Regions from separate parts of the Homo sapiens genome. Here region 2 is linked to region 1. The links are contacts of gene promoters, found by promoter capture Hi-C in blood cells and fetal thymus (Javierre and others, 2016). All regions are on one chromosome and are shown on one strand. Each heading gives the region's core, a stretch centred on a gene start or on the middle of the fragment in contact. The rest is flanking DNA. Distances are from core to core; before and after follow the strand shown. Region 1 holds the start of MPV17L2 (MPV17 mitochondrial inner membrane protein like 2). Region 2 overlaps LSM4 (LSM4 homolog, U6 small nuclear RNA and mRNA degradation associated).

Region 1 (6,472 bases), core at 2,817-5,316:
CCATTACCCAACATTCAATTATACTATAGATCTACAGTAACAAAAACAGCATAGTACCAGCACAAAAATAGACACATACATAAATGGAACAGAATGGAGAACCCAGAACCAAATCCATACATCTACATTGAATTCTTTTTTACTATTATTATACTTTAAGTTCTGGGATCCATGTGCAGAACGTGCAGAAGGTGCAGGTTTGTTACATAGGTATGTATACACGTGCCATGGTGGTTTGCTGCACCCATCAACCGGTCATCTACATTAGGTATTTCTCCTAATGCTGGCCGGGTGCGGTGGCTCACGCTTGTAATCCCAGCACTTTGGGAGGCCGAGGCGGGCTGATCACGAGGTCAGGAGATCGAGACCAAGGTGAAACCCCGTCTCTACTAAAAATACAAAAAATTAGACGGGCGTGGTGGCGGGCGCCTGTAGTCCCAGTTACTCGGAGAGGCTGAGGCAGGAGAATGGCGTGAACCCGGGAGGCGGAGCTTGCAGCCAGCCGAGATCGCGCCACTGCACTCCAGCCTGGATGACAGAGCGAGACTCCGTCTCAAAAAAAAAAAAAAAAAAAAGAAGTTATTTCTCCTAATGCTATCCCTCCCCTATCCCACCCTCTGACAGGTCCCGGAATGTGATGTTCCCCTCCCTGTGTCCATGTGTTCTCATTGTTCAACTCCCACTTTCTTTTTCTTTTTTTTTTTTTTTGAGACAGTCTGGCTCTGTCACCCAGGCTGGAGTGCGGTGGCGCAATCTCGGCTCACTGCAGCCTCTGCCTCCAGGGTTCAAGCGACTCCCCTGCCTCACCCTCCGGAGTAGCTGGAATCACAGGTGGGGGCCACCACACCCAGTGGTTTGTTTGTTTGTTTGTTTGTTTGTTTGTTTGTTTTTTGAGACGGAGTCTCGCCCTGTTGCCAGGCCGGAGTGCAGTGGTGAGATCTCGGCTCACTGCAACCTCCACCTCCCGGGTTCAAGCGATTCTCCTGCCTCAGCCTCTTGAGTAGCTGGGACTACAGGCGTGTGCCACCGTGCCCAGCTCATTTTTGTATTTTTAGTAGAAACGGTGTTTCACCGTGTTGACCAGATTGGTCTCAATCACTTGGCCTCATGATTCGGACGCCTTGGCCTCCCTAAGTACTGGGATTACAGGCCTGAGCCACCTCGCCCGGCATTGATCAGGTTTTTTTTGTATTGTTCTGTTTATTTGTCCCACTTTACGAAACTCACTGTTCTCCTATTGCCCAGGGGGACATGTCATTTTATCTATTCTCAGTAACTCATGCCTGTAATTCCAGCACTTTTGGATGCAAAAGTGGGCGGATTGCTTCAGTACAGTTCAAGGCTAGCCTGGGCAACATAGTGAGACCCTGTCTCTACTAAAGAGGAAAAAAAAACAAAACCTTTCTTTAAATAAAAGTTTTAAATTGGGGGAAGGAAGGAAGAAGGCTCTATCTCAAAAAAAAAATCAGAAAACCATGAAGGGTGTCCTCTGACTGGGCAAATTTTTGTTGTAAAAACCCATATTGTAGGCTGGGCATGGTGGCTCACTCTTGTAATCCCAGCACTTTGGGAGGCCGAGGCAGGTGGATTTGAGATCAGGGGTTCAAGACCAGCCTGAGTAACATGGTGAAACCCCGTCTCTACAAAACTACAAAAAATAGCTAGGCATGGCGGCGGGTGCCTGTAATCCCAGCTACTCATGAGGCTGAGGCAGGAGAATCGCTTGAACCTGGAAGGCAAATGTTGCTGTGAGCTGATATTGTGCCACTGCACTCCAGCCTGGGCAACAGAGTAAGACTCCGTCTCAAAAAAAAAAAAAAGCCATATTTCAGTTTTACTTTTTACAGGCCAACAAATGGCATGATTGTGTTTCAATGACGTTTGGCTTATTCTATGACCTGAAAATTATATGAAATGCAAATTTGTGTCCATAAGTAAAACTTTATTGAAACACAATCATGCCATTTGTTGACAAAAAGAGTGAAACTCTGTAAAATATGGGCCGGGCGCGGTGGCTCACGCCTGTAATCCCAGCACTTTGGGAGGCCGAGGCGGGCGGATCATGAGGTCAGGAGATCGAGACCATCCTGGCTAACACGGTGAAACCCTGTCTCTACTAAAAATATAAAAAATTAGCCGGGTTTGGTGGCGGGAACCTGTAGTCCCAGCTACTCGCCAGGCTGAGGCGGGAAAATGGCGTGAACCCGGGAGGTGGAGCTTGCAGTGAGCCAAGATCGCGCCACTGCACTCTAGCCTGGGCCACAGAGCGAGACTCTCTCAAAAAAAAAAAAGAAACTCCGTAAAATATTTAAAGAGGTTAATTCTGAGCCAAACGTGAGTGACCACGGCCCTAGGCACAGCCTTTTTTTTTTTTTTTTTTTTTTTTTTTTGAGACAGTCTCGCTCTGTGGCCCAGACTGGAGCTATCTCGGTTCACTGCAACCTCCACCTCTCGGGTTCAAGAGATTACCCTGCCTCAGCCTCCCGAGTGGCTGGGATTACAGGCGCCCACCACCACGCCCCTGGCTAATTTCTGTATTTTTAATAGAGATGGGGTTTTACCATGTTGGCCAGGCTGGTTTTGAATTCCTGACCTCAGGTGATCCAGCTGCCTCCGCCTCCCAAACTGTTTGGGATTACAGGCGTGAGCCACTGCGCCTGGCCAATCCCCACCTTCTTGACTGACCATTTAAAAAATGTAAGAAACACCTTTAGCTCATCATGAGCAGCACAAAACAGGCAGGGACAGGATTTGGCCCTGAGGCAGGAGAATAGGTCTGGAGGCAGGGAACATAAGGCCAAATCAAATGGAAACAATTCAGCTATGACAGGAAATATCTTCTCCATTTAAAGAGGGCATACATCCAGTAAATGACTTTGTAACTTTACTTCATCCTCTTCATTTACATAGGACGTACATTAAGTAACCAGTGAAAACCTCTAGAGGGCATTTAAACCCCAGAAAATTCTTAAACAGGTCTCTTGAGTCCGTATGCTCCACTGGCTCCCACCCTGCGGAGTGTACTTTCGTTTTCAATAAATCTCTGCTTTTGTTAAGCTTCATTCTTTCCTTGCTTTGTTTGTGCACTTTGTCCAATTCTTTGTTCAAGATGCCAAGAACCTGCACACCTTCAACAGTTAACAGCCCACAGGCAGTAGTTTGCGACTCTAGTAGAGAATGCATAGGGATTTCCATTGAAAATCATTTTTTAAGCCAGTTACGGTGGTTCACGCCTATCATCATCCCAGCACCTTGGGAGGCCAAGGCGGGTGGATCTCTTGAGGTCAGGAGTTCGAGACCAGCCTGGCTAACATGGCAAAACCCCTGTCTAGACCAAAAATACAAAATTAGTTGGGCGTGGTGGCCCGTGCCTGTAATCCCAGCTGTTTGGGAGGCTGCGACACGAGAATCGCTTGAACCCGGGAGGGAGAGGTTGCGGTGAGCCGAGATCGCGCCACCGCACTCCAGCCTGGGTGACAGAGCGAGACTCCATTTCAAAAAAAGAAAAAAAATAATTGTTCCCTACGGGAACGGTATAATTAGGATATAATTGTTTCTGGCCACAGATCACATCCCTTCTGGTTAAGTCCAGGAGAATCTGGAAATACGTAGGGCAACCAGGCCAGAAGGCGTTGTAACTGCCTAAGATTGACCAACCCTAACGCGGGAGGCGGGACGACGGTCACTGATTTGCCAGCGTGACGCCGGTCTGCGACTGGCCAGTGCCGTCCTGGGCGTGTCGGTAGGACGGGGCTGCGACGGTTTCCCATAGGCTGGCACAGAAAGGGGCGGGGAAACAAGAGTGCAACGTTACCAATCGGCATGCGGGACGTAACGCAATTCTTTTTTCCGATTGGTCCGTGAAGCTCGGGAGGTCGTTGGGGGCTCGACCTTGGGATAGAACGCCTGCCTTTTATTGGTCAATACTCTTCGGGCCGGGCAATGTGGCTCCCCGAGGCTGCCTGCGATTGGTGAACGCGTCGCGGCTCGGGGCGGACCTGCGGACTGAAGATCCTTATGCGATTGGCCGGGGAGCCGGAGGGGCGGGCAATTTGGGATCGACAGTGACTCGCGACTGGTCGGCGCGGCGAAAGCAGAGCGGCGCGCCGGTTCCTTGGTTCCTGAGGGCGATGGCGCGGGGTGGCTGGCGCCGGCTACGCCGCCTGTTATCCGCGGGGCAGCTTCTATTCCAGGGCCGCGCGCTGCTCGTCACTAACACGCTGGGCTGCGGCGCGCTCATGGCGGCCGGTGATGGCGTGCGCCAGTCCTGGGAGATCCGCGCCCGGCCCGGCCAGGTTTTCGACCCACGGCGCTCCGGTGAGGACGCCACGCTGCTTAGTCCTTCACCCCGGGCGACCTTTGATCCCGACACCCGACTGCGGGCCGTGACCCCTGACCCGTGGCCTCAGTCCCCCGCAGGACCCTTGCCCTGACCGCGCCTCTCCCCGGGTGTCTGTCTCCCCGCAGCTCTGGGTCTCCATCACCTCCCAACCCCCGGAGGTCTCTGCCCACTACCCAGGAGCCTCTGGAGCCGCGCCTCCTGGTGGGGCTTGTAGTGGAAGAATGCACGGGTGGGCTCTTCCGGTTTTCCCGGTGAGGCTGAGGCTCCGGGATGGCATTGGGCTTACCCAGGCCTTAGCCAGGGAGGGAGAGAGGGAATGGACTGAGGAACTTGCCGGCCCGACCCAGCCCCCTGACTTACACTCTTATAGCGAGCATGTTTGCGGTGGGCTGCAGCATGGGTCCCTTCCTGCACTACTGGTACTTGTCGCTGGACCGCCTATTCCCTGCGTCTGGCCTCCGAGGCTTCCCAAATGTCCTCAAGAAGGTCCTCGTGGATCAGCTGGTAGCCTCTCCATTGCTGGGCGTCTGGTACTTCTTGGGTAAGGAGCCTCCTAAGCCTAGGCTTTGCCTCTCATAGGTCGGGAGGGGTGGAGCCAGCTTTGTGTTAAGAAGGATGCAGAGGTGCATTTCCAATTTGCCCCCTGTTTGGGTCGCCCTGGACTAGGAGCCAGGTCACAGCGGGGACAGGACGGACTCGGCCGATGTGAACGCTGGCGAGTGTAGGAGGGACGAGGACTGTATCTGTTGGGGCTGCCCTGGGCGGGAGGTTGAGAGCATTTCCCAAAGAAGGGGACCACACTCAGTTGAGACATGAAGAGGGAACCAGCGGGCAGAGGGAACAGCTAATGCAAAGGCTCTGAGGCCTGAAGGAAGAGAAATTGAGGCTAGACTTAATGGGGTGCAACCGTGCCAGCCCTAGGCTCGGTAAAGACAGCGGTATTAATAGAGGAGTCTCTCATTCTCCACCTCCCAGCCCGGCTTCCTGGTCTGTGATGGAAAAGTAACACAACTCCCTCAACTTCAGGGTGTCTCCATTGGGGCACGTGTTTATATGTTTATAACCTCTCTTTCTCTCACTGGGACTGACTTGCTCTGTTTTGTCTCTACACCAGCTACCCTAATTCTCTGTCCATCCCATCTGAAAGTCCCTGTCCCTCTGCCCGGGGTGGGCGGCGTGGGCTCTCAGGGGCCCAACCCCGCCCCCTCCATCGTCAGCCCATCTTGTCGTCTCAACAGTACTTCCTGGCCTCTAACACTCTCATTTCTTGGTTTGCTTCCCAGGCCTTGGCTGCCTGGAGGGTCAGACAGTGGGTGAGAGCTGCCAGGAGCTGCGGGAGAAGTTCTGGGAATTCTACAAGGTGGGAGCACCCGCCCCTTGCACATGTCCGGCCCCGCCCCCTGATGGCCGCTCCGCCCCCGCCCAGCTCTGGCCCCGCCCCTCATCCCCCGCCTCTCCCCGCAGGCAGACTGGTGCGTGTGGCCTGCTGCGCAGTTCGTGAACTTCCTCTTCGTGCCCCCCCAATTTCGAGTCACCTACATCAACGGCCTGACGCTGGGCTGGGACACGTACCTGTCCTACTTGAAGTACCGGGTGAGTGTGGAGGGCATACCAGGCACCCAGGGGACTCCCCAGGGGGCTACACGTGTGAGCTCCAAGTGGCAGTGTAGCCAGCCACCCTGGAGGGTGGGAGTCTCCTGTGCTCCTGACAACCCACACCCAACAGTGGGCTGGCGGAGAGCTCCTCACTAGCAGTTAAGACCCAGCCGTGGCTGAGCGCCGTGGCTCATGCCTGTAATCCCAGCACTTTGGGAGGCCGAAGCGGGTGGATCGCCTGAAATTGGAGTTAGAGAGCAGACTGGGCAATATGGTGAAACCCCTTCTCTACTAAAAATACAAAAAATTACTGGTACGCACCTGTAATTCCAGTTACTTGAGAGGCTGAGGCAGGAGAATTGCTTGAACCCAGGAGGCAGAGGCTGCAGTGAGCCAAGATCATGCCACTGCACTCCAGCCTAGGTGACAGAGCGAGACTCCGTTTCAAAAAAAAAAGACCCATGCCGGGCGCGGTGGCTCACGCCTGTAATCCCAGCACTTTGGGAGGCCGAGGCAGGCGGATCACGAGGTCAG
Region 2 (5,814 bases), core at 3,247-5,746, 110 kb after region 1:
GCCACTGCCTGGGTGCCCTGGGACAATGAGCTGCTCACGCCAACCCCATAGTTGTAAAGATGGAGGGTCCCCCGTGAGGTTCTGGACACCCCACAGGTGCTAGGCGAGATGCCATCTTAGATTATTTCAAGCATTTATTGAGCACTTGCTGTATACCAGGCCAGTCCTAAAATGATTACTGGCATCCTCCCTTCATGCAATCTGCCCAATAACCCCCATGAGGTAGAGCTGCTGTTATCCCCCCGACCAGGGAGGAAACTGAGGCACGGTAGGGTTAAGCCCTCCAGGCACCTAACTATGTGCCTCAAATCCTGTCCCTCAGCTGATGTTACAATCAGGGGAGTGAGTTTTAAAGCAGCAGCCGATCTTGCTTACCCCCCACACCCTATTCCCAACCAATTTTGGGGTCCTGACTGTGCCTGAGCTGGGAGAAGGTCAATGGATCCTTCAGGTTTAAGGAGGCAGTGGAAAGAGGAGGTCACCATTGCTGTGTGACCTGGGGCAGGTTCCTCACCCTCTCTGTGCCTGAGCAGTGAATGACGATGCCACCCTATGGGTGAGTTCCGGAGCTGCCTGGCACACATTCATGATAGATAAACAATGGTTGGCTGAGCATACTGGCTCAGGCCTGTAATCCCAGCACTTTGGGAGGCTAAGGTGGGAGGATCGTTTGAGCCTAGGAGTTTGAGACCAGCCTGGACAACATGGTGAGACCCCTATCTGTAAAAAAAATAAAAAACAATTATCGGCTGTTGCTTGGATTGTGTGCCTGTCCTGAGCCTTCATTTCTCCATCTGTGAGGACCCTCGGAGGTGCTGGGTTGGAAGTGGCTTTGGAAACCCACGGGGCTGAGCGGCAAGGCTGAGTGGGAGCTCGGGGAATCCTCGCCCTCACTCGAAGTCTCCTTGAGAAGAGGCTGATGCTTGGCCGGGCGAGATGGCTTACGCCTGTAATCCCAGCACTTTGGGAGGCCGAGGCGGGCGGATTGCCCGAGGTCAGGAGTTCGAGACCAGCCTAGCCAACATGGCGAAATCCTGTCTCTACTAAAAAATGCAAAAATTAGCTGGGCGTGGTGGCGGACGCCTGTAATCCCAGCTATTCGGGAGGCTGAGGCAGGAGAATTGCTTGAACCTGAGAGACAGAGGTTTCAGTAAGTGGAGATCGCGCCACTGCCCTCCGGCCAGGGCGACAGAGTGAGACTTTGTCTCAAAAAAAAAAAAAAAAAAAAGAAGTGGCTGATGCCAAGCGTCAGGAACAGATCCCTGCAAGTGCCCACCCCAGCTCCTGTAGGGGCTTCTTTTTTATTTTATTTTATTTTATTTTTTCTTTTGAGACGGAGTCTTGCTCTGTCGCCCAGGCTGGAGTGCAGTGGCGTGATCTCCGATCACTGCAAGCTCCGCCTCCCTGGTTCGCGGCATTCTCCTGCCTCAGCCTCCCAAGTAGCTGGGACCACAGGCGCCCACCCGCCTTGCCTTCCCAAAGTGCTGGGATTACAGGCATGAGCCACCGCGCCCGGCCCTGTAGGGGCTTCTGGCCTGAGCCCTGACCCCCTCTGCCCCTTCCCCACAGAAGTTCAGAGGCTCCGTGCTTGCAGTTCCTCCACCTGTTCCGGCTCTCTCTGTGTGGCCAGCAGCTTCTTGTCCACTCGAGACTTGGTTTGACTGGACCTCCTCTTAAATTTTTAAAAAATTTTTAATTTATTATTAGTAGTATCATTTTTTTGAGACAGACTCTCGTTCTGTCGCCCAGGCTGGAGTGCAGTGGCGCTATCTTGGCTCACTGCAACCTCTGCCTCCTGGGTTTAAGCAATTCTCCTGCCTCAGCCTCCTGAGTAGCTGGGATTACAGGCACCACGTGCCACCACACCTGGCTAATTTTTGTATTCTTAGTAGAAATAAGGTTTCACCTCGTTGGCCAGGCTGGTCTCAAACTCCTGGCCTCAGGTGATCCGCCTGCCTCGACCTCCCAAAGTGTTGGAATTACAGTTGCCGCTGTGAGCCACAGCACCCAGCCGGCCTCCTCTTGCTCTGTGGAAAGGAGGTGCCACCTCGGGGTCCTGCACTTCCTGGGCAAGGCCAGCTGGTCAGCCTAGGCCCTGGCAGCCTCCTCCTCCCTGCCCTGAGGCCCCAGCACTGCCCCCTTCCTGCTTCCACCCCTGCTTCTGACTGTTCCAGAACCCTCTGTGGCTGCTTCTCATGTCACTCAGGGCCCACATCCTCCCCATTTCCTGCCCTTCTGTTTGCTCCTGTGTCCCCTGGGCACAGGGCCTTTGCACGGGACTGTCCTCCTGACCCCTGCTGGTCCAGAATGTTCTTTCCCAAGGTGGCTGGCTCCCTCGTCTCTCAGGCCCTTCCTGAATCTTCAGTGTCCTTCTCTCACCTTCCCTGACCACCTCTTCATTCACCTCCTCACGAGCCCGCCCTGTTTCTGGTTTCTTTTTCTTTTTTTTGAGAGTCTCGATCTGTCGCCCAGGCTGGAGTGCAGTGGCGCGATCTCAGCTCACTGCAACCTCCGCCTCCCAGGTTCAAGCGATTCTCCTGCCTCAGCCTTCTGAGTAGCTGGGATTACAGGTTTGTGCCATCACGTCCGGCTAATTTTTGTATTTTTAATAGAGATGGGGTTTCACCATGATGGCCAGGTTTTGAACTCCTTATCTCAGGTGATCCGCCCACTTCGGCCTCCCAAAGTGCTGGGGTTACAGGCATGAGCCACTGCGCCTGGCCTGGTTTCTTCTTTTTACAGCATTTATGCATTTGATATGCATATGCTTGTGGCTGGCTCACTCCTGTGGAAGGGAAGGATTGCCGGGGCTGTGTCACCAGCACCTGGGACAAGGCAAGTGGCCCTAGTGCCAGGCTCGTGCCAGGCCCTGGGCTCCAAAAGAAGAAGGTGGGGAGGGAGGTGACAGGGACACAGGCCATCTGGGGGTGGCTGTCAGAGTAGTGCTGGGAACAGCAGGTGAAGCCCAGAGGAGGAGAGGAGGAGGAGAGAGAGGAGGGGGATGGGGGATGGGAGTGGGGGATGAGTGGAGGAGGATGGAGGAGGAGGGGAATGGGGAGGAAGATGGGGAGTGAGAGGAGGGGGATGGGGGAGGAGAAGGAGAAGGAGGAGGAGGAGGAGGAGAGAGGGATGGCTTCCCACAGCTGCCTCTCGGGGGCCACTGCCCAAGGCCAGCCTCTGCACTTTTGTCCCTGAAGCGGGTGTTTGGCTCCAGGATGAGGTGGCGTCAGCAGCCGACCCGGGCCTGTCGCACTCTGGCGGGGGACTGTGGGCTGGCCCTGCAGAGCTCAGCCCCCGGCTGAGTCACAGCACAGCGCCAGGCGTGGGCCTCCCTAACAGAAAGCAAACTCCAGGCGAGAAGGTCTGGGGGCGGGTGGGGACCATCTACGATAAAGGCAGCCCCAGTTGGGTGAGGAGGGCACAGACCATCGGAGGGACAGAAAGACCTGGAAGCCTTGGATTTAGGAACTAGACTGGTGCTTTTGGTTTCTTTTCTTGTTGAGGGGGCTGAGGATGAGGCTTTGTGAAACCAACCAGGAAGAATGAAACACAGAGCTGGTCCGACACCCAGCTCGAGGGAGGGGGGCCGGAAGCTTCTGGAAGTTGGCTGCCCCTAAGCAGGGGCCACTCTAGCCCACAAGGCCAAGTTGGCAGAGGCAGACGAGGGGACTCTGCGGCTCAAGTCACGGGCCAGGAGCCCGCAGCTGCCGGGCTGGAAAGGTCAGAGCCGGCTCTGCGTCTGGCTGCGCCGGCAAGAAGCCACAATTACGCAGGCAAAAGAGCCCGGGGATTAGCCCCAGCACCTGGGACCCTGAATGGTGAGAAGGCACCTAGGGGGTGTTGGAACACATTCTGAGTTCAGAGCCTGGTCAGGGAGAAAAAACCAAACGGAGATCAGGAAGGGGAAGGGGCCTTCGAGGGCTTTCCCATCCCAACTTCCCAGGATGCCTGACCCCAGAGCTCCTGGATTTGATCCACGCCTCGTGACACACACAACCCCTGGGAGGAAGGAGCCCAGGCCCCTTGGAGAGCCCCAGAGGCCTCTAAGGGCCGGTGAGTCTAGGACATGGGGCAGGAGCTGCAAATGGGGCCTCCCTGCTCCCCACCCTTCCTTCCCTCCTCCTCTAAACATTGCCCCACCCACCTCGCCCTGTGAGCCCAGCCCCCTGCACGGCCCACACTGTAGGGGCATGGGGTGTGCCAAGAGATGCTCCTGTCGACCAGGCGCAGTGGCTCATGCCTGTAATCCCAGCACTTTGGGAGGCCAAGGCGGGAGGATCACTTGAGATCAGGAGTTCAAGACCAGCCTCGCCAACATGGTGGAACTGTGTCTGTACTAAAAATACAAAAATTAGCCGTCTGTGTTGGTGCACACCTGTAATCCCAGCTACTCAGGAGGCTAAGGCAAGAGAATCGCTTGAACACACGAGGCAGAGGTTGCAGTGAGCCAAGATTGTGCCACTGCACTCCAGCCTGGGCAACAGAGCGAGACTCCGTCTCAAAAAAAAAAAAAAAATGCTCTTGTCCAACAGGCAGGTGGGTGCCGTGGGCCGGTGCATCCCAAGGCTTCCAGGCCCGGGCCCCCAACTGCTGCCCCTGCCTGTGTTGAGGGGGCGGGTTTGTGAGGTTCAGGGCAGGCCACATCCTGGACCCCACATGCCCCATCTCTAACCATCAATCAAGTGCCGCTGTGGCGGAGAGGATTCAGGCGACTGCAGATATCCATCCCTGTCCCCCACCCCACACACAAGGAGAACATCCCAGGCGAGGACATTGTAAATGCAAAATCTATACGATGGCAAGTAACTCTGAAGACTCAAGAAAAAGAGTTCCTCACGGACGGGACCTTTTATTCCAATCACCTCTCAAAATAGGTCTCCGAACGAGGACCCTGAAGAGAAGGCTATGCAGGGGGACGGGCCGCTGCCTGGCTCAGGGCTTCCCTCTGGTTTCTTCACGGTCCACAGATGCTACCCGGAGCCTTTCTCGAAAGCGCTGACTCAGTGTCTCAGGTGCGCGCCCGAGGAGTGGCAAACCCGGCCTGGCTCAGAAAGGGGGCAGGAGCCTCGTGAGAATCTTCCATGAGCATCTTCCGAGGGGATTCCTGTCCTGTCTTCTCTGTGTGAACGCCAGTGTGGACAGATGAGGATAGATGATGGAGTCCAGGCCACCCAGGAGGGGGTGATGGGGACCATGCGTGGCCCCTGCCTGGGACTTCCCTCCCCACACACCCCTTGGCATTAACGTCTCCACAGAGGGGAGAGGGTTATAGGACAACCTGGTGTGGGGGGCGCCGGGGACTCTCAAGAGCCCCCACTGTCCAGATGCTGGTCTTGCCTTTTGTAAAAGGACATCAGTGCCTCACTGTGCCGCTGACACCTGGTGAGAACTCTCAAAAGGAAGCTTCCCTTACGGGAACGGGGATTTCCTGAGAGTCCAGCGATGGACAGAGGGCAGGAGACCCGCTAGGTGCACCCAGAAGCTCAAAAGGAACAGTGGATGTGCAGTGTGTAGTTTTATTTGTTTTTATTTCCATAACACAAGAGAGGAAGCGAAGGGCCAGGGCCCGAGGCATCCCCTGCACGGTTCGAAGGCTTTCAACCGTCCCGGGTTTGTTTTGAAGGCAATTTTGGGGCCGCGCCCAAGGAAACCCTGCAGGCTGTCAGTCCCAGCATGAACAGCTTAAAATAAAAATCTCCCGTCTGGTTGCTGCTCGGAGAGGCTCCAAGAAATGCAAAACAAACCCGCCTGGAAAATGCTGCCCTGAGAACCAGAGCGAGGGCTTGAAAGATGCCTTCAACACAGACTCTTCTA

The links. Contacts are between HindIII fragments. The CHiCAGO score rates a contact against its expected background, and 5 or more counts as called.
Region 2: a contact is called between a fragment that was not itself captured here and the fragment with the promoter of MPV17L2 in region 1, in 2 of 17 cell types (monocytes and total B cells). The highest score is 5.8, in monocytes.

The regions. Positions count from the first base shown.
Region 1 is chr19:18,189,152-18,195,623 of GRCh38, forward strand. It overlaps MPV17L2 (MPV17 mitochondrial inner membrane protein like 2), which reads left to right and starts at 4,067. Exons shown (of 5, transcript NM_032683.3): 1 at 4,067-4,317; 2 at 4,713-4,883; 3 at 5,626-5,702; 4 at 5,807-5,935. The coding sequence starts at 4,131. RefSeq lists a silencer at 3,592-3,771 and an enhancer at 4,162-4,211. The HindIII fragment of the contact is 3,564 bases long and covers 3,056-6,472 here.
Region 2 is chr19:18,301,407-18,307,220 of GRCh38, forward strand. It overlaps LSM4 (LSM4 homolog, U6 small nuclear RNA and mRNA degradation associated), which reads right to left. Exons shown (of 5, transcript NM_012321.5): 5 at 4,830-5,814. Among named protein-coding and RNA genes, the nearest start is that of LSM4, 19 kb to the right of the region's middle. RefSeq lists a cis regulatory region at 1-63 and enhancers at 3,293-3,672, 3,563-4,068, 5,535-5,814. The HindIII fragment of the contact is 1,810 bases long and covers 3,592-5,401 here.